7 separate regions of the Homo sapiens genome follow, and regions 1, 3, 4, 5, 6 and 7 are each linked to region 2. Evidence: promoter capture Hi-C in human tissues and cell types (Jung and others, 2019). All regions are on one chromosome and are shown on one strand. Each heading gives the region's core, a stretch centred on a gene start or on the middle of the fragment in contact. The rest is flanking DNA. Distances are from core to core; before and after follow the strand shown.

Region 1 (4,126 bases), core at 348-2,847, 650 kb before region 2:
GGTGGTGGGAGTTGAGGATGGCGTGCCTAAGTGATTTGGCTGTTGTCCAAGGCAGTTTTGAAAATCCACCTCTGGAATTGTTTTCAGAGACCTTTTTGAACCATGCGAGAGATCAGTTTCTTTAATATATTAAACCATACTGTATTATTATTATTATTATTTTTCAGATGGGGTCTCACACTGTGGTTCAGGCCGGAGTGCAGTGGCATAATCATAGCTCACTGCAACCTTGAACTCCTGGGCTTAAGTAATACTCTCACTAAAGCCTCCTGAGTAGTTGGGACTACAGGGGCGCACCACCAGGCCCAGCTAATTTTGTAATTTTAATTTTTGTAGAGACAGGGTCTCGCTGTGTTGCCCAGGCTGTTTTTGAATTCCTGGCCTCAAGCGATTCTTCTGTCTTGGCCTCCTAAAATGTTGAGATTACAGGCGTGAGCCACTGCACACAGCCTATATATATTTAACCCCGAATGGCATGGGTAAGCAACCTTGTCACCTGCCTTGTCTTCAGATGAGTTAACAGTTCTTTTGAAGTGGAAATAACAGATTTTTGGAGGGTGGTGAACATGAGTTTTAATTCTGAGTCTACCACTTATTAGCCACATAACCTTGGATAAGTTACTTCACCTCTGGGGCTCAATGTACCACTACATAACAGTGGGAATAGGGCCGGGCATGGTGGCTCACGCCTGTAATCCCAGCACTTTGGGAGGCCAAGGTGGGCGGATCACGAGGTCAGGAGATCGAGACCATCCTGGCTAACACGGTGAAACCCCGTCTCTACTAAAAATACAAAAAATTACCCGGGCGAGGTGGTGGGTGCCTGTAGTCCCAGCTACTCAGGAGGCTGAGGCAGGAGAATGGCGTGAACCTGGGAAGCGGAGCTTGCAGTGAGCGGAGATCACGCCATTCACTCCAGCCTGGGCGACAGAGCGAGACTCCGTCTCAAAACAAAACAAAACAAAACAAAAAAAACTGGGAATAATATTTACTTTGAAGGGTGGTTAAATGACGTATTACACATGAAAGCTCTTGGGACATAGGAATGCAATAAATGTTTTCACCCTCAAAGAATGAAGATTTGCCGTTAATGAGAATATTCAAAAGAACATGAGAGTCTCTGGCCGGGTGCGGTGGCTCACACCTGTAATCCCAGCACTTTGGGAGGCTGAGGTGGGTGGATCACCTGAGGTCGGGAGTTCAAGACCAGCCTGACCAACATGGAGAAACCCCGTCTCTACTAAAAATGCAAAATTAGCCGGGCGTGGTGGCGCATGCCTGTAATCCCAGCTACTCGGGAGGCTGAGGCAGGAGAATCACTTGAACTCGGGAGGCGGAGGTTGCAATGAGCCGAGATCATTGTGCCATTGCACTCCAGCCTGGGTGATAGAGCGAGAGATTCTGTCTCAAAAAAAAAAAAAAAGGCTCTGAAAGGAAGTTGTACCTTTTTCGAAATAGGTGGATTCTCTTTTTCACATACTTGTGGATTCATACTCTGACCTGCTCAGCCTCCCCCTGTCTTTCTTCATTCATTTTCTGTCCTTTCCTAAGTGAAGTTTTGCTGCAGAGGCTGTCTGCCAGTCTCTTGTAGTAAGCCTCTTTTCAGGAGAGCTAATCTGAACTCTCTTACAATGCTAGTCCCTTAGTCGCTATTCCTAGGGATTTTTTTCTGGGGGCTCCAGATGGTGCTTGGATCACGCTCTGTAGCACAGCCATCTCTAACTCCTGGATTTGGTGTCAATTTGGAGACCCATCCTGTGGAGCTAATCTTCTCTCTTTCTGAGCAAGGATGAATACTTTATCCTTTTCTGAGTCGGCCTTAAACTGCAAACCTTAGTCTTCTACAGCAGAGAGTCTTGTATTTTAATTATACGTAGACTAAAGACGGAATAGCATGCCCTTTTCTTTTCTTCCTTTACTTTCACCAAGGATTTCACTGCTGAGTAGGGGAGTAGGAGAATAGCCTGTTGCCATTCAGAGTGAGGCCTTGGGTAACCCCTGATTCCTAGCATAAGCAATAACTGAGTTCATCTTTGGGACAAAAACCTTGTAAAAGATTCGGGCTGCTCAGACACATGTGGAGAACCTCAAGCTAGGAATTTTCCTAGCTTGTGAGGAGTTTACACCTGGCATTCTTACTTTTGCAAATTTGTACCCAGAATCCAGTAGCAACAAAACTATATTCAGCCCAGACTTGTAGTTCCTTCAGGTTCCACCAGGCAGCTGTAAGACATGGCTGTGATTATGCTGGCTGGCCATGTTTGCCTTCATCCTCCTAATACTGCCCTTGGCTTTGGTATTGAGAAGGAAGTGGCATAATCAATTCATGAGTAACATTCTCTGCCAAAGTGGAAATCAGGGGCAGAGAGTTGTGAGCATAGGACTAGACAAATGGAAAGAGCCAGCCTTGCCTCAGGAATGCTGCTAAAGTGCTGTGAATCCGTGACAACCACTGTGTTTCTTGGTGTCACCTCATTTGTGAAATGGGAATGCCTTCATTGATCTCTCTCTTGAGAAGAGTGGACCACCATGCCAGTTTTCCCAGGACAGAGGGATATCCGTATGTGGGACTTTTAGTGCCAAAAGCAGGAAAGTCCGGGGCAAACCAGGACAAGTTAGTTACCCTACCCATGACCATTATACAAGTTAATGAACACTGTGCCCTTAGGGTTCATCTAAGACTCAACCCTTTGGGTTCATCTAATTATTTTTCAACCTTTTGTTCATTATCATATTTTGAGACTTTTTTTCCCTTAATTGTCTACTCCCCAGTGGAATGTTTTTTTGAGAGGGAGTCTCACTCTGTCGCCCAGGCTGGAGTGCAGTGGTGTGATCTCTGCTCACTGTGGCCTCTGCCTCCTGGGTTCAAGTGATTCTTGTGCTTCAGCCTCCTGAGTAACTGGGATTATAGGCGCCCACCACCATGCCCAACTAATTTTTGTGTTATTTAGTAGTAGTTTTTGTGTTTTGCCATGTTGGCCAGGCTGGTCTTGAACTCCTGGCCTTAAGTGATCTGCCCACCTCAGTCTCCCAAAGTGCTGGGATTACAGGCATGAGCCATCGTGCCCAGCTACCCCCAATGGAATTTTAATACCACAGATGTACTGTGTATCTGTTTTTGTATTGTGGCCCTTTGGATGGCCACAAACCATTGTAATATCTAACTTTTTTTCCCCCAAGAATCAATTTTCACCCCTTCTGGGCTGTTACTGCACTCACTGAGAATGCATGGTCTTATCTGATATTCTTTCTTTAATGTAGTCATCAAGGCCAGTTTTTTATCCAGAAGAAACAGCTAGTACCACAAGCTTTTTCGTTTCCTTTCCTGTTTTTTTTTTTTTTTTTTTTTTTTTTTTGAGACTGAGTTTCGCTCTTGTTGCCCAGGCTGGAGTGCAATGGCGTGATCTTGGCTCACTGCAACCTCTGCCTCCTGGGTTCAAGTGATTCTCCTGCCTCAGCCTCCTGAGTAGCTGGTACTACAGGCATGTGCCACCACATCTGGCTAATTTTTTTTTTTTTTGGTAGAGACAGTCTCACTGTGTTGCTCAGGCTGGTCTTGAACTTCTGGGCTCAAGCATTTCTCCTGCCTCGGTCTCCCAAAGTACTGGGATTATTAAGTGTGAACCACCACACCCAGCCAAGTTTATTCTTTATTGTTTTAATTTTCTTCCAGTCTTTGGATTTTGAGGTGGTCCATTTATCATCTGCTTCTCTGGTGCCTCTTGGACCTTCCATCTTCACAGCTGGGGCTGCTGTGTTGGCCCAGGTGTCCCCAGACTGGACATCGGAACCTTTGGGAAGAGTCTGATGTTTGGCCCTTGTCACATTTCACATTTCACATCTACAGAGAAATGGGGAAGGGTATGTTTCTGAGGTCTGCTCATAGGCTATGTTGTGACTGAGGAAGTTCTTGATCATCCCTTTTGGTTACCACTTATCATCACTGGCAGAAAAACATCAAAGTGGTCAGTGAACTCATCTCCACATCTGGCTACTTCCATCTCTGCAAGTAGTTTGCTTCTTCAGTCTTGTGATGGGAAAGAGATCTAGAAACTGGAAGAATAATCTGAGATACATCCTAAAGTTCTGGTGAGGAAAGCTAATGCCAATGGACTTTTTTTTTTTT
Region 2 (4,345 bases), core at 1,629-4,128:
TTCAAGCATGGACCTGAAGCAATGCTGTAAACACAAACATCAAAAGGAAGAGGAGGCCAGGTGTGGTGGCTCACGCATGTAATCCCAGCACTTTGGGAAGCGGAGGCAGGTGGATCACCTGAGGTCAGGAATTCAAGATCAGCCTGGCCAACATGGTGAAACCCTGTCTCTGCTAAAAAAAAAATAAAAAATAAAAAATACAAAAACTGGCCCGGCATGGTGGTTCACGCCTGTAATCCCAGCACTTTGGGAGGCCGAGGCAGGCAGATCACGAGGTCAGGAGATCGAGACCATCCTGGCTAACACGGTGAAACCCCGACTCTAATAAAAATACAAAAAATTAGCTGGGCATGGTGGCACCCGCCTGTAGTCCCAGCTACTCAGGAGGCTGCCGCAGAAGAATCGCTTGAACCCGGGATGTGGAGGTTGCAGTGAGCCAAGATCGTGCCACTGCACTCCAACCTGGGCGACAAAGGGAGACTCCGTCTTTAAAAAAAAAAAAAAAAAGAACAGGAAGGGTAGAGTAGGGCAATCTAATATAGAAAGGAGGAACCAGGGCAAGAGGAATGAAGGAAAACCTTGGACACAGTTGATTCCTAGTCAGTAAGCAGTGTTTATGACTAAGAAGACCCCTCCGTTCACTACTAAACACAGTGAATGACACACACACAGCAGGAGTACAATATTATATAACAAATAAACATATGCCAAAAACTACAAAATGGAACCCAAAGAAGAGGTTCCAACCTGAGATTCATTTCCTGGGGGACAGAAGTATGACCGTGTCCCCACCCTATGAAAATACAGGTAATGGGGTCACTGTATAATACACTGGACTCCAAAAATGGAGTCGGGAAGCCATAAACTAGCTGTGGACTCTGAGCAGATCCCTTTCACTTTTCTTTGCCTCAGTTTCCCCATGTATGAAATGGAGGTCATACCCCCATCTTCAAAGTGTGGACACAGTTTATAACACATGCAAAAAGTATTCAAAAACCATACAAATGAAAGCGCATGACGGACATCCCTACTTACATGTCTCATAAGCAATCTCAAACTTAACAGGCCCAAGATGAAATTCTCAATCATCCCCCAACACCTACTCCTCACCTTTCCCACCTCAGTAAATGTCACCACTTCAGTACTCTGGGAACCATTCTTGGTTTTCCTCAACCAATCCATCATCCAGTCCTATTCACTTTTTTTTTTTCCTCGAGACAAGGTCTCGCTCTGTCACCCAGGCTGGAGTGTAGTGGTGTGATCTCAGCTCACTGCAGCCTCGAATTCCTCGGCTCAAGGGTTTCTCCCACCTCAGCCTCCCAAGCAGCTGGGACTACAGGCGCGGGCCACCACACCAGGCTAATATTTTGTAATTTTGTAGAGACGGAATCTTGCCATGTTGCCCAGGCTGCTCGCAAACTCCTGGGCTCAAGCGATCCTCCCCTTTGGCCTCCCAAAGTGCTGGGATTACAGCCGTGGGCCACTGCACCAGGCCCTTCATTCACTTCTATCTGCACTGTCACCACCCTAATGTAAGCGAAAATCATCTCTCACATGATAATGAAGCAGCCAAAATGGTCTCTGGGCTTCTCCTGTACTCTCTCCAGTCCACACCAGGGCTCTAAACCCTTTAAACTACCCACTGTTCTTGAAAGAAACCAAACTTCTGAATCTGGCTTAAAAGACCCTACATGACCTCTTCCCCTGCTGCTCCCTCAAACCACTCTCCCCGTCCCTGACCTTGTGCCAGCACACTGGCGTTTCTGTAGTTCTCAACTGTATTCTGTTTCCTCCTGACAAACTCTTAATCATCCTTTGGGTCTCATTTCAGAGCTGGGTCCCCGCCATACACTCTCAGAGCACCCTGAAGTACTTAAGCATTTGTGTAATTATTTTATTACAAAAAGTATAAAATCACAAACTTAAAAACCCAATCGACTATAAGCTCCATAAGGGTAAGTACTGTCATCTGTTTGGTTCACCTCTGTATCCCCAGGAAAACAGGGTCCAGCACACGGTCTGGGCTCAATATTTGAACCCAGACGAGGTGAGGGGGGACAAAGTAGCCACCTAAAAATCCTAACTCAAAAAGATAAAGTTCTAACCGTATGTGGATGCCCATTTTGTTTCAACTCTCTCCACCCCCATTCTCAACGGCTCAGGCCAAATCATACATGGGACCAGATACCTCAGGTCTCCAAGCTCAGGCAGCCCCCGCTGTCTTCCACCCCATAAAGTTCTAAGTCCAAAGTGAGCCCGTCCTAGCTCTGGGGCGAGAGAAAACAGGCCTCTTTCGCCCCTGCAGGTGAGGGTCCCGGACCGCCCGGAGGCAGGTTCCTCATCCAGACCTACTGGCCAGGACTCCTCCACACTATTCCGTGCAGCCATGACGCACGCAGACCGCAGCACTTCGTCAGCGAAGAAGCCGCTGAGCGCGAGGCGCTTCTTCGCGGCTTCTCAAGCACCGTTCAAACCGCGCGTCGGGCCCAAGTGCCTAGCTTCGAGTCGCAAAGCCTCAGATGTCCACCCTATTCAAGGAGAATGGACTGAAAAGACGACGACCCCGGTCCTCTCTCTTTAAGAACCACCCCCATTCGAGCCTGACGGGGGCTCTCAGTAAACTCGCGAGAGCCACCGGCTTCCGCCCGCTTCCTCCTCTCGCCTTGCCGGGCCGGAAGAAAGGTGGCACCTCCCACCCCCCAGCCTTACCTCACAAGGCGGCGCGGACCCAGCTGCAGCCAATCGGCGGGCTCATTGTAGGCTGCGGGGCAGAGAGCCAATGAGAAGTCGCGGCGGACGCCCAGCTTCTCCTCACTCGCACCGGCCCCCTCCCTTCCGCCTGCCGCCTTCCACTCCGCCCCTGGCGGAGGAAGTGATGTCACAGGCCCCATGTGAGCGGATTGCAACACATGCAGCTGCCTGGAGAGAGGGAGCCGGTGTCCTACGTCAGAGCCGCCGCCGCCGCGGAGCCGCCGCCGGGGAGGAGCAGCCGCTGCCGCCCAGGACTGGGCCCTTAGGTAAGGCACAGGGAGGGAAAGGCCGGTGACCTTTGTGGCGAGCTGCACCGGACGGGAGGAGAGGGCCTCTGGGGGATGGCGAGGAAGGGGGCCGCTCTGCCCCAGCGGCGGCGCTAACTCTGTGGTCTTGGTGTCTCCGGGCCCCGCCGGGCCGCTCTAGGGAGGAGGAGGCGAGAAGATGGCGGACGACCCCAGTGCTGCCGACAGGAACGTGGAGATCTGGAAGATCAAGAAGCTCATTAAGAGCTTGGAGGCGGCCCGCGGGTGAGCGCCGCGTCCGGCACCCTCCGTGCCCTCTTGGTTCCCGGACCCCTCAGGATGGACGCCCCCGCGCCGCATGGCCGGATGAGGAGAACCAGGCACTAGCCAACTCCCGCCTTCTGGATCTCTGGGTAGTAGCCCCTGACCCAGGGGCGAGGGTCGGCGCGGTTGGCCCGAGAAGGGGTCCTTTCCCCGCATGGGGGTAAGGGGCCCGCGCTCCCCGGTTTAGATCACTCGGCCCCCCTCGTGGTAGGCCACCGCTACTTTTGCACCTCTCCCGGGCCCTTAAGTCCAGGTCCTCCCTCTTCGGGCTCCAGGTGCTGCCACCCGACTCGGGTGCTATTGTGGCAAAGTGTTCGGCCTTCCTTTCCCAGGGCCCTTCCCTGATTTCCTCTTCTCCCTTCATTTCTCAGCCAGGCCTCATTAAAATGGCCTCTCCCTTCTGGGCTTCTGAGACCCGGGTGGGTGAAGTTTGGATGGGACGGGAAGCAGAGGTGGCCAGGGACAGCTTCTTTCTGATTCCTGATTTCTCTGGGTCTTCCACCTGTCCCAAGATGACTTCTCCCAAGTCCTCTAATTACCCCGGAGCTTCCTGGTTTTAGCTGTTCCAGGACCCACCTATAAACTGAAAATGCCAACGTACGCGCGATGTGAGGGGTGCTGGGTAGGTTTTGGTTAATGAATCTGCATGTGTATGTCCAGGAGAAATACGGGTTAGGGGGCCGTTTGATAGGAATCATAACTACAGAGTCCCTGCTGGCATTTCTCTGAAACTTGTGGGGATATCGCTGTAGAGAGGCGCCTGATGTGCTTGATGCTTGTTGAGTGAGATTCATAATTGAATTAAATGGGCTTTGAGTCTTGTACATTTTGATAAGAAACTGTAGGTGTGTCCATTGGGGGGAGAGTAGGCTAGATTAAAATTAGCTGTGTGTGTGTGTTTTCTTTTTTTTTTAACGTTGTTCGTTTGAGGAAGGTGTGCCAGGGGTATTCCTGTTTCTTTTATTACTTTATTTTGTTCCTTTCCCAGTCATAGAAACTTTTTACTTACAGGAAGTGCCCCCCCC
Region 3 (4,011 bases), core at 1,254-3,753, 830 kb before region 2:
AAAGATTTTATTTAGCTTGACTTTCTGAAGTTTGTATTATAAAAATGAGTTTTTCACATATGGAATCATAATATGAAATATTAACACTGATTATAGTGTTTCAAAATATGCCTCCCTTACCCCCAGAACGCAATCTGGACTTGATTTGGTCCCCATGGGCCTAACACACATTACCACATACTCACAGATTTAGGTTCACAATTACTTAACTTTTTGTCCCTTTCTTCATCTTAAAATTTTGTATAGGCCGGGCACAGTGGCTCACGCTTATAATCCCAGCACTTTGGGAGGCCAAGCCAGGCAGATCACAAGGTCAGGAGTTCAAGACCAGCCTGACCAACATAGTGACACCCCGTCTCTACTAAAAATACAAAAATTAGCTGGGCATGGTGGTGCATGCCTGTAATCCCAGCTACTAAGGAGACTGAGGCAGGATAATCGCTTAAACCCGGGAGGAGGAGGTGGCAGTGAGCCGAGATCGTGCCAGTGCACTCCAGCCTGGGCAACAGAGCGAGACTGTCTCAAAAAAATAAATAAATAAAATAAAATAAAATAAAAATTTGTACAATGGTGTCTATACATCTCCCAGGGGTATGTTTTCAAGAAACAAGATAATGAAATTAAAGCACTTAGCACAGAGCCTGGCACACTGTAGTTACACAATAAATACTACTATAACTAGTATCCTTTAGTGTTCCTTAGAGCTCTGGCCAAGTTAGGAGCTCAGAAACCATAGATTCAGCCACGTTTTAGGACCAAATGATAGTTAAGGAAGATACTTGATTCCAGAAGTCTGCCTTAGGACTGGGTTATGGGAAGTGGGGGTGGCTGAGGGTTGCTGGCCTTGGTAAATGACCTCACTATCCTCTTCCAGGGAGCCCAGAGGAGCGTGGTCTGATACAGTGGAAAGCTGGGGCTCATGCCAACAGTGACATGTCTTCCAGCCTCAAGAGCTACGATTTCCCCATTGGGATGGGCATAGTAAAAAGAATTACCTTTCTGAAATACATTCCTATCTGCCCAGTCTTCAAAGGATTTTCTTCAAGTTCAAAAGATCAGATTGCAATTCCAGAAGACACTCCAGAAAATACAGAAACTGCATCTGTGTGCACCAAGGTCTGAAAAATGACTTCCAGGAAAGGTAGGATGTGTCTATGGTTTTTGTGGGAGGGTTGAATAATCAAAACATTCTTATGCTTTAACCAAAGAAAAACCAAACTACTCAGTTCTCTTTCTTGTAAACTGTTTGAATGTCCTCAAAGAGAAGGTGAGCTGGGTAAAAAGTCAACATACGGATTTTGGGTGGAATTCCTTTACCATTTCATAGTAACAGCAGAACTTCCCAACTAGTGTGGGCCACTAAGAGGCTACAAGTATGCTGAAATGCAGATCCTCTAGCCTTCCAGACACCTGGGCAGAATCTGGGCCAATTGGAGTCCTTGAGCTAAGAACTCTAGCCACTGGCAGCCTCATTCTTGTACTCCAGTATGCTAAACAAGTATCACTTTGATATGCGACATGGAAAATGTTGAGAAATGCAGCACAAGAACAGGAAAAATCCTCTCATATACACTGCCTTGTCTCAATAACGTCATAAAATTAAAACCCTTTAAAACAGGATGCCTTTATCCTAAAACGATGCCTGTACAAGCCCTGATGAGGTGACACTTTGTCCTTAGGTCTTCAGAACGCATGGGCAGCTGATGCTCGGAAACCTTCCATCACTATCTGTAATGCAGATGCCTGGCTCTCTACTAAACACTGAAGTGGGTTCAATGTGCACGTTCCCTCAGACAGACAAGAAAAGTTCCCAAAAAGAGAGGTTAGCCTAGATGACTCCTTAATAGTAAAAATAACAACACTTAAAACAGGACTTTCTATGTCTTAAGTACTTATATATATTAACTACTCACATAATCCAGAGACAGTTATTACTGCTATTTTAGAGATGTGGAAAGGAAGGTACAGAAAGGTTAAGTGATATGCCCATGATCACAGGATTCACATCCAGGAAGTCTGGCTAGAGTTCCCTTTTCCTTTTTTTTTGAGACAGAGTCTTGCTCTGTCGCCCAGGCTGGAGTGCAGTGGCGCCATCTCGGCTCACTGCAACCTCCACCTCCCGGGTTCAAGCAATTCTCCTGTCTCAGCCTTCTGAGTAGCTGGGATTACAGGCGTCTACCACCATGCCCAGCTTATTTTTGTAGAGATGGAGTTTCACCATGTTGGCCAGGCTGGTCTCAAACTCCTAACCTCAAATGATCCACCTACCTTGACCTCCCAAAGTACTGGGATTACAGGCGTGAGCCACCGCACCCAGCCTAGAGCCCCCTTTTCTTTTTTTAAATTTTTTTCCCAACAAAAGCCACATTCAAGAATCTTTACTCTTAAGGGCGATCACCTGAGGTCAGGAGTTCGAGTCCAGCCTGGCCAACATGGCAAAACCGCATCTCTACTAAAAAAATACAAAAATTAGCCAGGCGTGGTGGTAGGCGCCTGTAATCCCAGCTACTTGAGGCTGAGACAGGAGAATCACTTGAGCCCAGGAGGCAGAGGTTGCATTGAACTGAGATTGCATGACTGCACTCCAGCCTTGGTGACAGAGTGAGACTCTGTCTTGAAAATAAATAAATAAATAAATAAATAAATAAATAAATAAAGGCTGGGTGCGGTGGCTCACGCCTGTAATCTCAGCACTTTGGGAGGCCGAGGCAGGTGGATAACCTGAAGTCAGGAGTTCAAGACCAGCCCGGCTAACATGGTGAAACTCGGTCTCTACTAAAAATACAAAAATTAGCCAGGTGTGGTGGCACACAACTGTAATCCTAGCTATTTGGGAGGCTGAGGCAGGAGAATCACTTGAACCTGGGAGGTGAAGGTTGCAGTGAGCTGAGATCGTGCCACTGTACTTCAGCCTGGGCAACAGAGCAGGACTCCGTCTCCAAAAACCAACCAACCAACCAACCACACACTGGGGTACAGGTGCCCACACCAAAGAACCTCCCCCATACCCACTGCCAGAAGAATGTGAGTCAGAACTGACTATATGGCTCTCTTAATCTTTTTCAACCTAATAAGCTCAAAAAAAGCCCTTGTGAAGAACAAAAAACAATGGAGGTTCTATTAGAGTAAGGTCACCATCATATTGGTCAGCCATAAAGTTTCTTACATGACTATCTAGGATTCCCCTGACACTGAAGTCTGAGGTGATTAAGAAGCAAGGATGGGCAATGGAGTTATTCTACTGCTATATTCTGGAAAGGTACTTGCATGGCAACATACCTGTTAGAATCTAACAAAGCCTGAAAGCTTAGCACATTTTGCCAGCAAGATTGTCCTGAGGCACTGGGCCCATACTCAAGTGAGTAACACCACTACAGTACATTCCAGCACCAATAAACACAACCATCTGCTCAGTTCTACTATTATTTATTTTTTTAAATATTTTTGAAAAAATATAATTTTTTTACAATATTTTCAACTTAAACACTATTCACACTGAACACGTATGGCAGCTTAACCTACCCAAATATGAAGTTTAAGAAGCCAAAACTGTTCTAGCTTTGTTAAAAGTTGTGCTGCAGACTCTCGTGATGGTTAACAAAGCAAGGAAAAGCACCACTCAAATCATGTTACAGTATCTTTGTTCAGCTGGATTATGGGTTGGTATTGGTCATATGTTAGACTCCATACAGGCATAGCTATGATGCAGTGAATCCCTTAGAAGTTACAATTCTCAAATTACATACTTCCTCAGATGTAACATTAGAACTCAATATTTCTAACAATAACATACCAGAAAAGGCTGGACTGGCACTCATCTGCTGACTAACTTGTAGCCTCAGTAATATGACATACTTGCCTTTAACAAATTATCTCAAATTAACTAACAGACCTTCAGAAAATGGAGATTCTTTTTGATGGGGACATAATCAAATTTAAGTCTGAGAAATATGCTTAACAGTTGGAACTCAAATTAAATGTACTGATTTTAAAGTTTAGACATTAACAAGT
Region 4 (4,139 bases), core at 635-3,134, 630 kb before region 2:
CTGAGTAGCTGGGATCACAGGCATGCGCCACCACGCTCAGTTGATTTTTGTATTTTTAGTAGAGACGGGTTTTCACCATGTTGCCCAGGCTGGTCTTGAAGTCCTGACCTCAGGTGATCTGCCTGCCTCGGCCTCCCGAAGTGCTGGGATTACAGGCGTGAGCCACCGCGCCTGGCCAGTCTGTAGTTTTCTTGTAGTGTTTGTCTGGCTTTGGTATCAGAGTAACGCTGGCCTCAGAGAATAAAGTAGGGAATATTCCTTCCTCTTCAATGTTTTGGAAAAGTTTGAGAAGGATTGATGTTAGTTCTTTAAATGTTTGGTGAAGCCATCAGGTCTAGGGCTTTGCTTTGTTGGGAGATTTTTGATTACTGGTTCAGTTGGCTTGCTAGTTACAGGTCTGTCTGTTCAGAATTTCTATTTGTTTGTGATTCAGTCTTGGTAGATTTTGGTTCTATGAATTTGTCCATATCTAGGTTATCAAGCTTGTTGGTGTACACCTGCTCATAGTACACTCTTTTTTTTTGTTTGTTTGTTTTGAGATGGAGCTTCGCTCTTGTTGCCCAGGCTGGAGTGCAGTGGTGCGATCTTGCTCACTGCAACCTCCGCCTCCCGGCTTCAAGCAATTCTCCTGCCTCAGCCTTCTGAGTAACTGGGACTACAGGCGCGTGCCACCATGCCAGCTAATTTTTGTATTTTTTAGTAGAGACGGGGTTTTGCCATCTTGGCCAGGCTGGTCTCCAACTCCTGACCTCAGGTGATCCACCTGCCTTGGCCTCCCAAAGTTCTGGGATTACAGGTGTGAGCCACTGCGCCTGGCCTAGTACACTCTTATAATCCTTTTCATTTCTGTAGAATCAGTGGTAATATCTCCACTTTCATTATTTTTTTCTTTTATTCTTTTTTTTTTTTTTTTTTTTTTTGAGACACAGTCTTACTCTGTCATCCAGGCTGGAGTGCAGTGACATGATGTCGCTTCACTGCAACCTCTGCTTCCCATGTTCAAGTGATTCTCCTGGCTCAGCCTCCTGAGTAGCTGGGATTACAGGCACATAACATGATGCCCGGCTAATTTTTGTATTTTTAGTAGAGACAGGGTTTTGGCATGTTGGCCAGGCTGGTCTTGAACTCCTGACCTCAGGTGATCTGCCTGCCTTGGCCTCCCAAAGTGCTGGGATTACAGGCTGAGCCACTTCACCCTGCAGTCTTTTTTGTTTTTTTTTGAAATGGGGTCTTGCTGTACTGCCCAGGCTGGTCTCAAACTCCTGGGCTCAAAGGATCCTCCTGAGTACCTGGTACCACAGGCATGTGCCACCATACCTGGCCCAACTTTGATTTCTGATTTTAGTAATTTGAGTCCTCTCTCTCTTTTTCCTTTTTGAGACAGGGTCTCACCCTGTTGCCCAGGCTGGAGTTTGGTGGCGTAGTCATGACCTCCTGGGCTCAAGTGATCCTTCTGCCTCAGCCTCCCAAGTAGTTGGGACCACAGGCACCTGCCACCATGCCTGGCTAATTTTAAAATTTTTTGTAGAGATGGGATCTTGACATATTGCCCAGACGGGTCTTGAACTCTTGTGCTTAAGCAATCCTATCTTGGCCTCCCAAAGTGCTAGGATTATAGGTGTGAACCACTGTGCCTGGCCTGTTTTAAAAAAGTCCATCTAGGTAAAGGTTTGTCAATTTTGGTGATCTTTTTTGCATAACCACCTTTTAGGTTTGTTGATTTTTTTCTATTATTTTTCTATTCTCTATCTCATTGATCTTAGCTCTGATCTTTATTATTATTTTCTTTCTTCTGCTAGCTTTGGGTTTAGTTTGCATTTCTTTTTTCAGTTCCTTAAATTGTAAAGTTAGGTTGTTGTCTGTGATCTTTCCTGTTTTTTTTTTTTTCTTTTATTTTTTGAGACAGAGTCTCACTCTGTCACCCAGGCTGGAGTACAGTGGTGCAATCTCAGCTCACTGCAAGCTCCGCCTCCTGGGTTCACGTCATTCTCCTGCCTCAGCCTCCTGAGTAGCTGGGACTACAGGCACCTGCCACCACGCCCGGCTAATTTTTTTTTTTTTTTTTTTGTATTTTTAGTAGAGACGGGGTTTCACCATGTTAGCCAGGATGGTCTCGATCTCCTGACCTCGTGATCTGCCTGCCTTGGCCTCCCAAGGTGCTGGGATTACAGGCATGAGCCACCGTGCCTGGCTGATCTTTCCTGTTTTTTAATGTACACATTATAGTTATAAATTTCTCCTTTAGTATTGCTTTTGCTGTGTCCCGTGTAAGTTTTAGGTATTTATTTATTTATTTTTGTTTATTTTTAAGACAGCGTCTCACTCTGTTTCCCAGGCTGGAGTGCAGTAGCATGATCTTGGCTCACTGAAATCTCTGCCTCCTGGGTTCAAGCAATTCTCTTGCCTCAGCCTCCTGAGTAGCTGGGATTATAGGCTCCTGTCATCACCCCCAACTAATTTTTGTATTTTTAGTAGAGATGGGGTTTCACCATGTTGGCCAGGCTGGTCTCAAACTCCTGACCTCAAGTGATCTGCCTGCCTTGGTCTCCAAAGTGCTGGTATTACAGGCTTGAGCCACTACACCCGGCCCTCATTTTTTTTGGTGTATATTCTTTAGCTATTTTCTGTGTGGTTGCCATGGGCATTACATTTAACATCCTGAAGTTATAACACTGTAATTTGAATTTATAATAGCTTAACTTCAATAGCATAGAAAACTCGGCTTCTTCAACAGCTCCATTTCTCACCCCTTTCAGTTGTTGATGTCATGATATTGCATCTTACACGTTGTGTGTCTAAAAACATAACCTATATCTATTTTTTTAATGCATTAGTCTCTTAAATTATGTAAAAACAAAATGTGGTGTTGCAACATCCTGGGGGTGAATTCTAGGGTAGGCTGTCTTCTTTGGGATCATGGGGGCATCAGCGGGTTCTGGAGTGGGGGCAGAGATGTGAGGCATTATCTAAAATTGGAAATGTCACAGAGGATAGAGAAAAACTCCCCTCAGCACTTAGCAGTGAATCTGGGACCAGCTGGTGTTTTGCTGCCTGTCTTCACTGTGGCCGCAACAGCTGGCAGCCATTGCGGCTGCCATCTTGGGAGTGGGTCCCTCCAAAGTTTCTGATGAGAGATCTCCTTATCTTATTGAGGATCCTTGTGTGTAATGAGTTGCTTTTCTCCCCTTCAAGATTTTGTCTTTGTCTGTCTTTTTTTTTTTTTTTTGAGACGGAGTCTCACGCTATTCCCCGGCCGGAGTGCAGTGGCGTGATCTTGCCTCACTGCAACCTCCACCTCCCGGGTTCAAGCAGTTCTCCTGCCTCAGCCTCCCAAGTAACTGGGATTACAGGCACCTGCCACCATGCCCAGCTAATTTTTTGTATTTTTAGTAGAGACAGGGTTTTGCCATGTTGGCTAGGCTGGTCTCGAACTCCTGACCTCATGATTTGCCTGCCTCAGCCTCCCAAAGTGCTGGGATTCCAGGCATCAGCCATCATGCCTGGCTCTAAGCCACCATACCTGGCCCTTTGTCTTTCAACAGTTTGATTATAATGTGTCTTGGTGTGAGTCTCTTTGTATTCATCCTGTTTGGAGTTTGTTGAGCTTTTCAGATGTTTATGTTCGTGTCTTTCATCAAATTTGGGAAATTTTGTACCATTATATTTTCAAATGTTCTCTCTGCTACTTATCTTTTCTTTCTGGGACTTTCACAATGTGTATGTTGGTCTGCTTGATTGTGTCCCCTAGGTCCCTTAGTCTCTATTCACTTCTCTTCAGTCTTTGTGCTTCTTTTCCTCAGACTTGATAATTTCCATTGTCCAGTCTCCAAGTGTTCTCAGATTATTTCTTTTGCTTGCTCAAATCTGCCTTTGAATTCCTCTAGTGAATTTTTTATTTCAGTTATTGTACTTTCCAGCTCTAGAATTTTTGGTTTCTTTTTAAGATGTCTGTATCTTTATTGATATTTTAATCTTTTTCCAAACATTGTTTTCTTGATTTTTCTCCATGCCTTCCTTTAGTTCTTTAAGCAACTTTAAGGCTGTTGCTTTAAAGTCTTTGTCTAGTAGATCTGCCATTAGGTCTTTTCGGGGATAGTTTCTTTTGGTTTATTTTTTTTCTTTTTTTTTCTTTTTTATTT
Region 5 (3,829 bases), core at 237-2,736, 680 kb before region 2:
GAAAATTACCCGTTTCACCAAAATTTTCAAACTTATTGCTTTAAAATATTTTTTTACAGTGTTCTCTTATGACTTTAAATTTTCTGCTATACAGCTATATCTTCTTTTAAATGTTTTTTTTTTTTTTTTTTTTTTTTTGGAGATGGAGCCTTGCTCTGTTGTCCAGGCTGGAGTGCAGTGGCGTGATCTCAGCTCGCTGCAACCTCCGCCTCCCGGGTTCAAGCTATTCTCATGTCTCAGCCTCCCAAGTAGCTGGAATTACAGGGGCCAGTCACCATGCCTGGCTAATTTTTGTATTTTTAGTAGAGACGAGGTTTCGCCATGTTGGTCAGGCTGGTCTGGAACTCCCAACCTCAGGTAGTCTGCCTGCTTCATTCAGCCTTCCAAAATGCTGGGATTACAGGCATGAGCCACCGCGCCCAGCCCTTTTAAATGTTTTGATATTGTTTATCTATGCCTTTTTCTTGACTGAGCTTGTCAAAAAAATTTTGTTGATTCTCTATAGTATTTCTATGTTTTTTTCTGCTCTTGTCGCTCAGGCTAGAGTGCAATGGTGCAATCTTGGCTCACTGCAACCTTTGCCTCCCGGGTTCAAGCTATTCTCCTGCCTTAGCCTCCTGAGTAGCTGGGATTACAGGTGCCCGCCACCATGCCCAGCTAATTTCTGTATATTTATTTATTTATTTATTTATTTATTTATTTATTTATGAGATGGAGTTTCACTCTGTCACCCAGTTGGAGTACAATGGCGCAATCTCAGCTCACTGCAACTTCTGCTTCTAGCAATTCTCCTGCCTCAGCCTCCCAAGTAGCTGGGATTACAGGTGCATGCTACCACACCCGGCTAATTTTTGTATTTTTAGTAGAGACAGGGTTTCCTCAGGCTAGCCAAGCTGGTTTCGAACTCCTGACCTCAGGTGATCCGCCTGCCTCAGCCTCCCAAAGTGCTGGGATTACAGCAGTGAGCCACCGCACCCAGCTTGCTTTTCTCATATGAGCATTTAAAGCCATACATTTCCCTTTAAATACAAGTTTGTCTTCTATGGCTATTTTTTATTTAGAAATATCTGCATTTTGATTTATTTTTTATCCCATAATTCTAGAAATGTTTCCAAATGCATGGGGCTGTTGTTATCTTTCTGTCATTGAGTTCTATTTTGTTGTGTTTCTTTTTGCTTTTTTTGAAATGGTGTGTCATTCTGTCACCCAGAATAGAGTGCAGTGGCGTGATCACAGCTCACTGCAGTCTTGACCTCCTGGGCTCAAGCAATCCTCCCACCTCAGCCTCCTGAGTAGCTGGGATCACAGGCATGTGCCACCATACCCAGCTAAATTTTTTTATTTTTAATTAATTAATTTTTATTTTTATTTATTTATCTTATCTCCCTAAGCTGATGAAGGATTTTTTATTTTTTGTAGAGATGAGGTCTCACTATGTTGCCCTGGCTGGTCTCAAACTCCTGGGCTCATGATTCCCCCACCCCAGCTTCCCAAAGAGCTGGGATTACAGGCATGAGCCACTGTGCCTGGCCTTGAATTCTATTTTGATTAGAGAAAGTGGTCAATTTGTTACAATAGGTAGCTTAGTCAGGCATAAGCAGGGCAGGAGAGGGCTGCTCTCATACAACAGGAATGCCAGGTGACCATCAGGTGATGGTTAGGCAGTTGTTAACTGTCTCTCTAAACAAATAGTTGGTGACAGCCAGTGCCAGGGAAAGGCAGTCTCCTAATATATAGAAAACACTTGAAACTGCTATCAGCGGCTTTCTGGTAAGATCTCAGGAGTTGAGCGAGGGGGCCCAAGAATGCAGTTTAAGAGGCAAAATGGTGGAGTTTAACTGGTATATGACCTTGCTCTAGAGATGCTAGACTGGTAAGGGAAGAACGCCTCAAGTGAGCATGCTATGACTCCAGTAAGCACACTGCATATGCTCCCTTCCCAAGTGCTAGCAGTCCACTGCTCACGCGGACAGCCCACCCCAAGGCCCCAAGGGAAGAATCAGAGGAGAAATAACTCAAGACCCTACAAGTATGGCAACATATAAAACCCATGCATGTGATCTCTCAAGTGTACTTTACTTCCTTTGTGTTTTTTTTTTGAGAAAGAGTCTCAAATATTGGCTCACTGCAACCTCTGCCTCCCGGGTTCAAGCGATTCTCGTGTCTCAGCCTCCCAGGTAGCTGGGATTACAGGCGCACATCACCATGATCAGCTAGTTTTTGTATTTTTAGTAGAGACAGGGTTTCACCATGTTGGCCAGGCTGGTCTTGAACTCCTGACCTCAGGTGATCTGCCCACCTCTGCCTCCCAAAGTGCTGGGATTACAGGCGTGAGCCCCCACACCCAGTGCCAAATGTATTTTTATTTATTTATTTATTTTTTTTTTTATTGATCATTCTTGGGTGTTTCTCGCAGAGGGGGATTTGGCAGGGTCATAGGACAATAGTGGAGGGAAGGTCAGCAGATAAACAAGTGAACAAAGGTCTCTGGTTTTCCTAGGCAGAGGACCCTGGGGCCCTCCACAGTGTTTGTGTCCCTGATCAGGGAGTGGTGATGACTCTTTTTTTTTTTTTTTGAGACGGAGTCTCGCTCTGTCACCCAGGCTGGAGTGCAGTGGCGGGATCTCGGCTCACTGCAACCTCCGCCTCCCGGGTTCACGCCATTCTCCTGCCTCAGCCTCCCAAGTAGCTGGGACTACAGGCGCCGGCCACTACGCCCGGCTAATTTTTTGTATTTTTAGTAGAGACGGGTTTTCACCGTTTTAGCCGGGATGGTCTCGATCTCCTGACCTTGTGATCCGCCTGCCTCAGCCTCCCAAAGTGCTGGGATTACAGGCGTGAGCCACCGCGCCCGGCCGGTGATGACTCTTAACGAGCATGCTGCCTTCAAGCATCTGTTTAACAAAGCACATCTTGCACCGCCCTTAATCCATTTAACCCTGAGTGGACACAGCACATGTTTCAGAGAGCACAGGGTTGGGGGTAAGGTCACAGATCAACAGGATCCCAAGGCAGAAGAATTTTTCTCAGTACAGAACAAAATGAAAAGTCTCCAATGTCTACTTCTTTCTACACAGACACGGCAACCATCCGATTTCTCAATCTTTTCCCCACCTTTCCCCCCTTTCCACTCCACAAAAGCGCCATTGTCATCATGGCCCGTTCTCAATGAGCTGTTGGGTACACCTCCCAGACGGGGTGGTGGCCGGGCAGAGGGGCTCCTCACTTCCCAGTAGGGGCGGCGGGGCAGAGGCGCCCCTCACCTCCCGGACGGGGCGGCTGGCCGGGCGGGGGGCTGACCCCCCCACCTCCCTCCCGGACGGGGTGGCTGCCGGGCGGAGGGGCTCCTCACTTCTTAGACGGGGCGGTTGCCAGGCGGAGGGTCTCCTCACTTCTCAGACGGGGCAGCTGGGCAGAGACGCTCCTCACCTCCCAGATGGGGTCACGGCCGGGCAGAGGCGCTCCTCACATCCCAGACAGGGCGGCAGGGCAGAGGCACTCCCCACATCTCAGATGATGGGCGGCCGGACAGAGACGCTCCTCACTTCCTAGATGGGATGGCGGCCGGGCAGAGACGCTTCTCACTTTCCAGACTGGGCAGCCAGGCAGAGGGGCTCCTCACGTCCCAGACGATGGGCAGCCAGGCAGAGACACTCCTCACTTCCCGGACGGGGTAGCGGCCGGGCAGAGGCTGCACTCTCGGCACTTTGGGAGGCCAAGGCAGGCTGCTGGGAGGTGGAGGTTGTAGCGAGCCGAGATCACGCCACTGCACTCCAGCCTGGGCACTATTGAGCACTGAGTGAACCAGACTCCGTCTGCAATCCCGCAC
Region 6 (3,959 bases), core at 968-3,467, 870 kb before region 2:
ATGACTAAATGTTTCTTATATTTAATTGTAAGAAAAAGCTTGAAATGAAGTAAAAGGAGCTTTGACTCCAGAAACATTGAAATGAAACAAAGGAGTTCAGCTCTTGATGAATTGGTTACCTCTTTTATCTTTCAGAGTCAGAGCTGACAAATTTGGCAGGATTATACAGAGATGAACGATTGAAACAGAAAGCAGAGTCGCTGAAACTTGAAAACTGTGAGAAACTTTCCAAACTCATTGGCCTACGCAGAGGTGGCTGAGAGGATAATGGTCCTACGCAGGGCTGGGGTTTTGCTACTTGTTCCTATTTATGTTCCTGATTCCATTTTATAATACAAAACTAGGTAATGATGAACACTTTACTATTTGCTAACTTCGTTGGTTGGGCAGAGTGGCAGGAGCATGGGCACGAGAGCCAGATGTGTCTTCACAGGATCCTTCCTGGGGAGTGGCTCCAGGGACCAGGAGTAGTTCATCTAAGTTAAATTAATGGCAAGGCATTGGATTCCGTCTCCCTGCTCCATGCCTACCCTGCCTATGTGAATGGAGTTCAGGGCATCCCAGAGCAGATCCATGCTTTCTTCCTTCTTCCCTTCTTCAGTGAAGTCTTAAGAACCAGGCATTCCTAGGCTTAGCCAAAGCTTAATATTAGTTATTTACACTGTCTACCAAGAATTATACCTCTCCCTTCATTAGAGTCATCATCTCCGCCAAGATTTAGCCTTTGGAACATGTTCCTGCCCAGCTTTCCATTTTCTAGGGGAATATGGAGAAATTTAAACTATTGTAGTCAATAGTTTTCTATTATTCCAATCTCTGCTCAGTTAGTAGCATTAGCAAACTGCCTAATTTGAGATTCCTTTATTTCCTTAACCCTCTCTCCTTTAGAGAGTCCAGAAATTAAAACTACTGAGCAGCATCTGGAGGCGGGGGCCAGGGCGAAGGTATAATGCAAGACCGAGCCTCATCTCCTCCACGAAGCCTCCCTACTCCATCATAGAACCCAGAGAATGTCCCTTCGGTCATTTCCCCTCAGTATCATCATTGGTGTCATCGCACTTAGGCTGAGTTCCTACATCCCACAGAGGCAGATGGTCAGACCCAGGAGGAGGCATTGCCAGCTCTCCAGGCTGTTTGCTCAAGCCTAGAGATAGAGGAGACAGATCCTCTCTCCTTGGATATGGGGGTCTAGCTTTGGCCCCAGCAGCCACTTTGTTTAACCCAGTATCCTATAGTTTGTGATTTGAGATGATTTTTCATTCATTCAACATTTATTGAGTGCCTACTATAAAAGCAGGGGCTCTCACACATATTTTCTTACTTAAACCTCCTCACAACTCTGAAGTAGATGTATTATCCCTGGTTCTATGAATGAGAACATTGGCCCAGAGAGGATGACCCAGGTCTTGTAGTGGCAGAGCAAGACGGTAGGCTGAGTGTCAAGTAGAAAGTGGGAGAGCATCCTCATGTCTCAGGTGATTCTAGCCAGACTGGCAAAGCAGAACCTTTCCCGAGGATGCCTCCGTCCTCCCCAACCCCATGACCCCTCATCTTTTCTGTGGCAATCTTGCATCTGTTCAGGACAACATCCCTGCTGCTCTTTAGGAAGCAGGACCCTGTCTAACATAAATTCTGTACACAAAATAAGAGGTCCCTCACAGGCAGGCAGCCCTCCACTGGTGACTAGGAAGAATTCAGTCACTGCCTGGGCTGTGTGGTTCTGGGCCTTCCTGTGGAGCTGAGCTGCCTGAATTATCATGACTCTGAACTTGGAAGGATCATTAAGTGACTGTAGCCTACACTCCATGCTTCCTTCATATTGGAAGAAAAGTTTCTGGTAGAGAGTCGGCCGGGTGCACTGGCTCAAGCCTGTAATCCCAGCACTTTGGGAGGCTGTGGCAGGTGGATCACCTGAGGTCAGGAGTTCAAGACCAGCCTGGCCAACACAGTGAAACCCCATCTCTACTAATAATACAAAAATTAGCCAGGTGTGGTGGCACATGCCTGTAGTCCCAGCTACTCGGGAGGCTGAGGCATGAGAATCGCTGCAACTTGCAAGGTGGAGGTTACAGTGAGCTGAAATCACGCCACTGCACTCCACTCCATCTCAAAAAAAAAAAGAGTCTACATTAAACAGATTCCAAAGTAAAGTTTCTTCATCCCAATGCATGGCCATGATTTACACAGACGTGCCTAGCATGGCTCATCAACATCTGAACGGTTGTTCCCTACCATGCCTCTGCAGGCATTCCACAGAGTCAGGAGATGGGTTCACAGGTAAAGATTGGGGGCTTTAGTGGCTTGTAGGGGACAACTGCTCAGTTGCAGGGAGAGGGAGCATTTCTAGAAATAGCCAGATTTTGCTGCCCAACTAGATCTGTCCTCCTGGTTTTAGGGGGCCCTTCTTGATCCCCTCTGAGTGACTGAGGGAGGTTACATTGTAAAATATGTCCATGAGCCAAACAGGCTTATGGAAAGTTCTTCTACACACAAAAAAATCAAAGCTCTCCTCTCCCCATCCCCAACCACTGCTAGAAAATTGGCCATAATGAAACTGACTTGACAGGTTAAAAGACCCTGTCCTAGATGCCCAGGAATCAGGTAGTCACACATTTTATGGACTTCATGGCAGCGATAAGTAATCTGTGATGATACTAAATAGAAGCAATAATAACTAACTCCATTAAATGTCACGCTGATTGTCTGTTTTTATAGCACCGATGGTACTGTTTTATTTATTGCCAATAGACCACAACATTCACATCTGTTTTTCCTCAAGGGAACCGTATTTGCTTTTGGTTGAAGGATTTATCTATTTGATACTATCCAGAATATTGTGAAGCTATAATTTCCTGGGTTATATTTTAGATGGGTTGTCTGCATGGTGGTAAAATAAGCTTTTTCCTCTCGCCTACGTCCTTTGGAAGATCTCCTGATCATACATAACTAGGTAGGGCTTATTCTTGCTGCCGGAGCTTGGCACCCAGCTCTAGACTGTTTCTTTGAGCATTACTGCAGATTGGAGACGTGTGTGAGAGGAGCAGCGCTCAGAAATAGGGCTTGAGGCTCAAGCAGAAACTGAAGCTCTCATTCAAATGAAGATGCTCTCTCTACCGCACGATCGGCAGTGAGAAAAGGAGGATGAAAATCCTTCTCATCACAAAGAGCTTGAAGGAACCCACGTCCCCAGATTAGCAACCCTAGAGTTCATCTGCTCAGGCCGGGAAATGTGTAAGCTTCCTTGATCAGCTCCAGGCCTCACAGCACGGGAGCAGTGACCAGTAAGGAAACGTCACTGCTGTGCTTTCTGTTGGAAATTGTTCGAAAATACAGTGAACTGGCCAGGCCCAGTAGCTCATGCCTGTAATCCCAGCACTTTGAAAGGCTGAGGCAGGCAGATCATTTGAGGTCAGGAGTTCCAGACCAGCCTGGCCAACATGGTGAAACCCTGTCTGTACTAAAAATACAAAAATTAGGCGGGCATGGTAGCACGTGTCTGTAATCCCAGCTCCTCAGGAGGCTGAGGCAGAAGAATCTCTTGAGCCTGGGAGGCAGAGGTTGCAGTAAGCTGAGATCACATCATTGCACTCCAGCCTGGGTGACAGAGCAAGACTCTGTCTCAAAAAAAAAAAAAGAAAGAAAAAAGAAAATACAGTGAACTCCAGATGCCACTGGAACATGGGTTCCAGCAGCCTGGCCAAGCTATGTGTCATTCTTTTTCCTCATGATACCCAGGATGGGCTTTGTGAGGAGGCACTGTGCCGTTCCAGTGGCTTTCTGTTACAGCTGGCCACACCATACAAGCAAGTACATCATCTGCATGCACTGCTCCTCACAGGAGCTTGCACTTCATTCATATTTATTCTGCCCTCATTTAAGGTATAAGCTTAGTGTCCTAATATATTTATTTTTGGAAAGGGCCAAGTTACAAAACATCTTTTTTTTGAGGCTGCACTGTT
Region 7 (4,167 bases), core at 194-2,693, 780 kb before region 2:
GACCATCCTGTGGATGGTGAAACCCGTCTCTAGTAAAAATACAAAAAAAAAAAAAAAAAAATTAGCCAGGCGTGGTGGCGGGTGCCTGTGGTCCCAGCTACTGGGGAAGCTGAGGCAGGAGAATGCCATGAACCGGGGAGGCAGAACTTGCAGTAAGCTGAGATTGCACCACTGCACTACAGCCGGGGTGACAGAGCGAGACTCTGTCTCAAAAAAAAAAAAAAAAAAAAAAGTAATAAGCTTAAGATATTAAAATAGTGTAAGAAAAATAAAAGTCTGGAAGAACACAAACTTGCAATGCTGAATTACAGAAGTGTTTAAAACAAAAAAAGAAAAACAAAAAAGATGTTCTCCTCATCCTTATTTCCTTTTTGAGACAGGGTCTCACTCCACTGCCTATGCTGAAGTACAGTGGCACAATCATAGCCCACTACAAACCTTGGACTCCTGGGTTAAGTGTTCCACCTGACTTCAGACTCCCGTAGCTAAAACTGTACGAGCATGCCACTTTGCCTGGTTAAAAAAAATTTTTTTTTGTACAGATGTGGCCTCAATATGTTGTCAGGGCGGTCTCAAACTCCTGGGCAACTCTGGCCTCAGCCTCCCAATGTCTAGGGATTTACAGGCATGAGCCAATGCATCCAGCCTAACTCTAAATTTTTTTTTTTGAGATGGAGTCTTGCTCTGTCACCCAGGATGGGTGCAGTGGCACAATCTCGAGTCATTGCAAGCTCCGCCTCCCGGGTTCATGCCATTCTCCTGCCTCAGCCTCCCCAACAGCTGGGACAACAGGCGCACGCCACCACGCCCAGCTAATTTTTTTGTATTTTTAGGAGAGAGGGGGTTTCACTGTGTTAGCCAGGATGATCTCAATCTCCTGACCTCGTGATCTGCCTGCCTCCGCCTCCCAAAGTGCTGGGATTACAGGCGTGAGCCACTGCGACTGGCTAACTCTATATTTTTTAAATACAAGAAAAAAAAGTATGAAATATTAATTTTTGAGACCCTGTCTCAAAAAAAAAAAAAAGAAAAGAAAAGCAAACAACTAGTCCTCCAGATTTCATCACTAAAAATAGGGATATACTTTAAAAAAAAAAAAAAAAAAAAAAAAAAAAGCAAATTTTTTTTTTTGAGTTGGGAGTCTCGCTCTGCTGCCCAGGCTGGAGTGCAGTGGTGCAATCTCAGCTCACTGCAACCTCCGCCCCCTGCCAGTTAAGCAATTCTCCTGCCTCAGCCTCCCAAGTAGCTGGGATTACAGGCACATCACGCCTGGATAATTTTTGTATTTTTAATAGAGATACGATTTCACCATGCTGGCCAGGCTGGTCTCGAACTCCTGACCTCAGGTGATTTGCCTGCCTTGGCCTCCCAAACTGCTGGGATTACAGGTTGAGGAATGACGCCCAGCTCCATATTGAAAAATCTTAAGGATTTTAATAAATTATCTTCTCTAAAACTTCCTTATGTATATTACCTGACTTTTCATCCTCATCAATATGTAATTCTTTATTTTCCCATAAGGCTCAGCAAGCTTGAGAACAGCACTATCAGAATAGCCAGAATGCGGCAAATTGCTGAGATGTATCACACGTCCAAGCTCTTGCTTTTGATCAAACTTCTGATCTGGCTTTCCTTCAGGTTTCTTTAATAAATAACAACAACAAAAGGACAAATGTGCAATAATTATTAGTTAACAGTTAAAAACATCCTAGTCTTTACCAATTGTTTTATTTTTATAGAGACGAGGTCTTGCTATGTTGCCCAGGCTTGCCTGGAACTCCTGGGCCTCACATAATCCTTCTGACCTTGGCCTCCCAAGGTGCTGGGATTACAGGCGTGAGCCACCACACCTGGCCTTAGCAATAATTTGAAATAACCACAGTTAATAACTATTAAAATCATTTGTTAAACTGATATACAGCTTGAAAAAAATAAACATTACCTTTATTCTTTTATACTTCTGGGATAAATGAACTCTCACTGGCTTGCCAAATACTAACGCTGGTGTGGTTGTGTAATAATCCACTGCGGCCTGAGCATCCTCTGTGGTTGCCATTTCAATAAATGCCTGAAATTATACAAAAAGTTATTTCTCTGTTTTTTCCAATCAGCTTTCTCACATTGAACTAAAGATTTTTTTTCCTAAAAAATAACAATGCCCCAAATCTTTTCAGATATATTTAATCATTAAGTAGAAAATACTTTCAAGAATCAAAATACAAAACAAAAGAGGCTGGGCCCAGTATCTCATGCCTGTAATCCCAACACTTCGGGAGGCCGAGGCAGGCGGATCACGAGGTTGAAAGATCAAGACCATCCTGGCCGACCAACATGGTGAAACCCCGTCTCTACTAAAAATACAAAAATTAGCTGGGCGTAATGGTGGACGTCTGTAGTCCCAGCTACTTGGGAGGAGGCTGAGGCAGGAGAATGGCTTGAACCTGGGAGGTGGAGGCTGCAGTGAACCTCACTGCACTCCAGCCCAGGTGACAGAGTGACACTCAAACACAAAACAAAACAAAAACAAACGAACAAAAATGTTGGCCGGGTGTAATGGCCGACGCCTGTAATCCCAGCACTTTGGGAGGCCAAGGCGGGTGGATCACCTGAGGTCAGGACTTCGAGACCAGCCTGGCCAACATGGTGAAACCCCATCTCTACTAAAAATACAAAAATCAGCTGAGCATGATAGTGGGCGGCTGTAATCCCAGCTACTTGGGAGGCTGAGGTAGGAGAATCGCTTGAACACAGGAGGCGAAGGTTGCAGTGAGCTGAGATCGCGCCACTGCACTCCAGCCTGGGTGACAGAGCGAGACTCCGACTCCCAAAACAAAGAAACAAAAAAACCCCAAAAAACAGTGTTGCCAATTTGCTATTTTATTACAAAGGCCACCTCAGATTAATTTTCTACTGCATTACTTTATCATTTACTATGCCAATTGGACTAAAAATAATGACTTGAAACCATCATTTTGGTATAGATCTGAAATGGCTTTCCACAGAATTTTCCTTTTACAACTTTTATAGTAGTATAATGACAATTACTACCTAAGGATCATAATTTATAGTTACTAATAATCCATTAGTACCCTATTATATTCATCAACTACTGGCCTTTTCCTCTACTACATTCTGCATTTGATAAACTTAAGATTACCTTGAGTTTTATTTTTCTAATACAAAATCATTTAATTCTTGCAGAACATATATTAGTGGCATGAATAAATGAATAATACCAATATTTCAATTCATACCTCATTAATTTTATTTAGAATCAGATGATTTGAAATGACTCCAAATGGTTCTACCAGCTGTAATAGCTGGTATCTCAAGTTTTTCCCTCGTTGAAAATCCATGATGTGAACAACTCTGCTAGTTTCCTATCCATTAGGGGAAAAAAACCAAGCAATTAAGTCTCTTTAAAGCAATATGAAACCAATTACGCATTAGGACTTTTTATAATCTATAATTAACCAGGAGAGTGTAAGTAAAACAACTCATAACATTCTAGAGAATTTTAAAGCTACATATCAAACGTCACTGGGTAAGTTCTTTCTGACCATAACCAAACGGTTAAACTACTTCAAAGTGTCAAAACATACTCTCTGTAGTGATTTTTAAATTAAATATTGTACGCGTAACTGGACAGCAAAGCTTCCAAGATGCTGAATTAAGGTGACCTCACTGGACTATGGGCATACAAAATTTAAAGTTTTAACTGTTATCAAAGCCATAGAAAAACGTGATTGTTTTCAAATTACAGCAATGTTCCCATAAGGACCACGATACATACTCAACTAGTAAGGATTTAGGTCAAATCATATTCCCAAAAATCATAAATACAGTAAAACCAAAAGCTTCATTACTGACCACTCTGCCTTTCTGCATGTGTCTAGGTCCTTGCAGGTTTCCATTTCCAGCACCTTTATGGGAAGAGAAAGTTTTCAGTCTTGTAATCACTATACTTGCTTAAAGAAGCAATTTTACTGAAAAACGTGCATCTTCCAAACACAAATGAAAAGCTCTTACAAATATATGATTACCATCACTTTTCATGCAATGTTTTTTCTGTGTAATATTTGAATGAGCCTTCTTTCACCTATAATCATTGCCTTTAATTTTCAGAATGGGGCCGGGTGTGGTGACTCAAACCTGTAATCCCAGCAC

The links. Contacts are between HindIII fragments. The study calls those that stand out against the background at their distance.
Region 1: a fragment that was not itself captured here is called in contact with the fragment with the promoter of ETF1 in region 2 in 3 of the 25 tissues and cell types used here (IMR-90 fibroblasts, bladder and stomach).
Region 3: a contact is called between a fragment that was not itself captured here and the fragment with the promoter of ETF1 in region 2, in 2 of the 25 tissues and cell types used here (IMR-90 fibroblasts and dorsolateral prefrontal cortex).
Region 4: a fragment that was not itself captured here is called in contact with the fragment with the promoter of ETF1 in region 2 in 1 of the 25 tissues and cell types used here (mesenchymal stem cells).
Region 5: a fragment that was not itself captured here is called in contact with the fragment with the promoter of ETF1 in region 2 in 1 of the 25 tissues and cell types used here (mesenchymal stem cells).
Region 6: a fragment that was not itself captured here is called in contact with the fragment with the promoter of ETF1 in region 2 in 1 of the 25 tissues and cell types used here (hippocampus).
Region 7: a fragment that was not itself captured here is called in contact with the fragment with the promoter of ETF1 in region 2 in 4 of the 25 tissues and cell types used here (IMR-90 fibroblasts, mesenchymal stem cells, mesendoderm cells and 1 more).

What each region holds. Positions count from the first base shown.
Region 1 is chr5:139,192,228-139,196,353 of GRCh38, reverse strand. All of the region lies in intron 1 of SIL1 (SIL1 nucleotide exchange factor), which reads left to right. Among named protein-coding and RNA genes, the nearest start is that of SIL1, 4.1 kb to the left of the region's middle. The HindIII fragment of the contact is 8,977 bases long and covers 1-4,126 here.
Region 2 is chr5:138,541,769-138,546,113 of GRCh38, reverse strand. It overlaps ETF1 (eukaryotic translation termination factor 1), which reads left to right and starts at 2,878. Exons shown (of 11, transcript NM_004730.4): 1 at 2,878-3,017; 2 at 3,178-3,281. The coding sequence starts at 3,196. RefSeq lists enhancers at 1,647-2,436, 2,318-2,717, 2,437-3,226, 2,168-3,367 and a silencer at 3,008-3,057. The HindIII fragment of the contact is 28,551 bases long and covers 1-4,345 here.
Region 3 is chr5:139,369,117-139,373,127 of GRCh38, reverse strand. It overlaps PAIP2 (poly(A) binding protein interacting protein 2), which reads right to left. Exons shown (of 4, transcript NM_016480.5): 4 at 3,411-4,011. SLC23A1 (solute carrier family 23 member 1) reads left to right here. Exons shown (of 15, transcript NM_005847.5): 14 at 875-1,141. The coding sequence ends at 1,122. Among named protein-coding and RNA genes, the nearest start is that of SLC23A1, 12 kb to the left of the region's middle. The HindIII fragment of the contact is 8,101 bases long and covers 1-4,011 here.
Region 4 is chr5:139,171,719-139,175,857 of GRCh38, reverse strand. All of the region lies in intron 1 of SIL1 (SIL1 nucleotide exchange factor), which reads left to right. Among named protein-coding and RNA genes, the nearest start is that of SIL1, 25 kb to the left of the region's middle. The HindIII fragment of the contact is 4,426 bases long and covers 1-4,097 here.
Region 5 is chr5:139,224,143-139,227,971 of GRCh38, reverse strand. No RefSeq gene overlaps it. Among named protein-coding and RNA genes, the nearest start is that of SIL1, 28 kb to the right of the region's middle. RefSeq lists an enhancer at 3,497-3,829. The HindIII fragment of the contact is 6,415 bases long and covers 1-3,829 here.
Region 6 is chr5:139,410,449-139,414,407 of GRCh38, reverse strand. DNAJC18 (DnaJ heat shock protein family (Hsp40) member C18) reads left to right here. Exons shown (of 8, transcript NM_152686.4): 8 at 136-3,959. The coding sequence ends at 260. Among named protein-coding and RNA genes, the nearest start is that of SPATA24, 8.3 kb to the right of the region's middle. The HindIII fragment of the contact is 3,753 bases long and covers 341-3,959 here.
Region 7 is chr5:139,316,809-139,320,975 of GRCh38, reverse strand. It overlaps MATR3 (matrin 3), which reads right to left. Exons shown (of 15, transcript NM_018834.6): 6 at 3,871-3,923; 7 at 3,255-3,380; 8 at 1,943-2,068; 9 at 1,475-1,642. Among named protein-coding and RNA genes, the nearest start is that of PAIP2, 23 kb to the left of the region's middle. The HindIII fragment of the contact is 4,627 bases long and covers 1-3,756 here.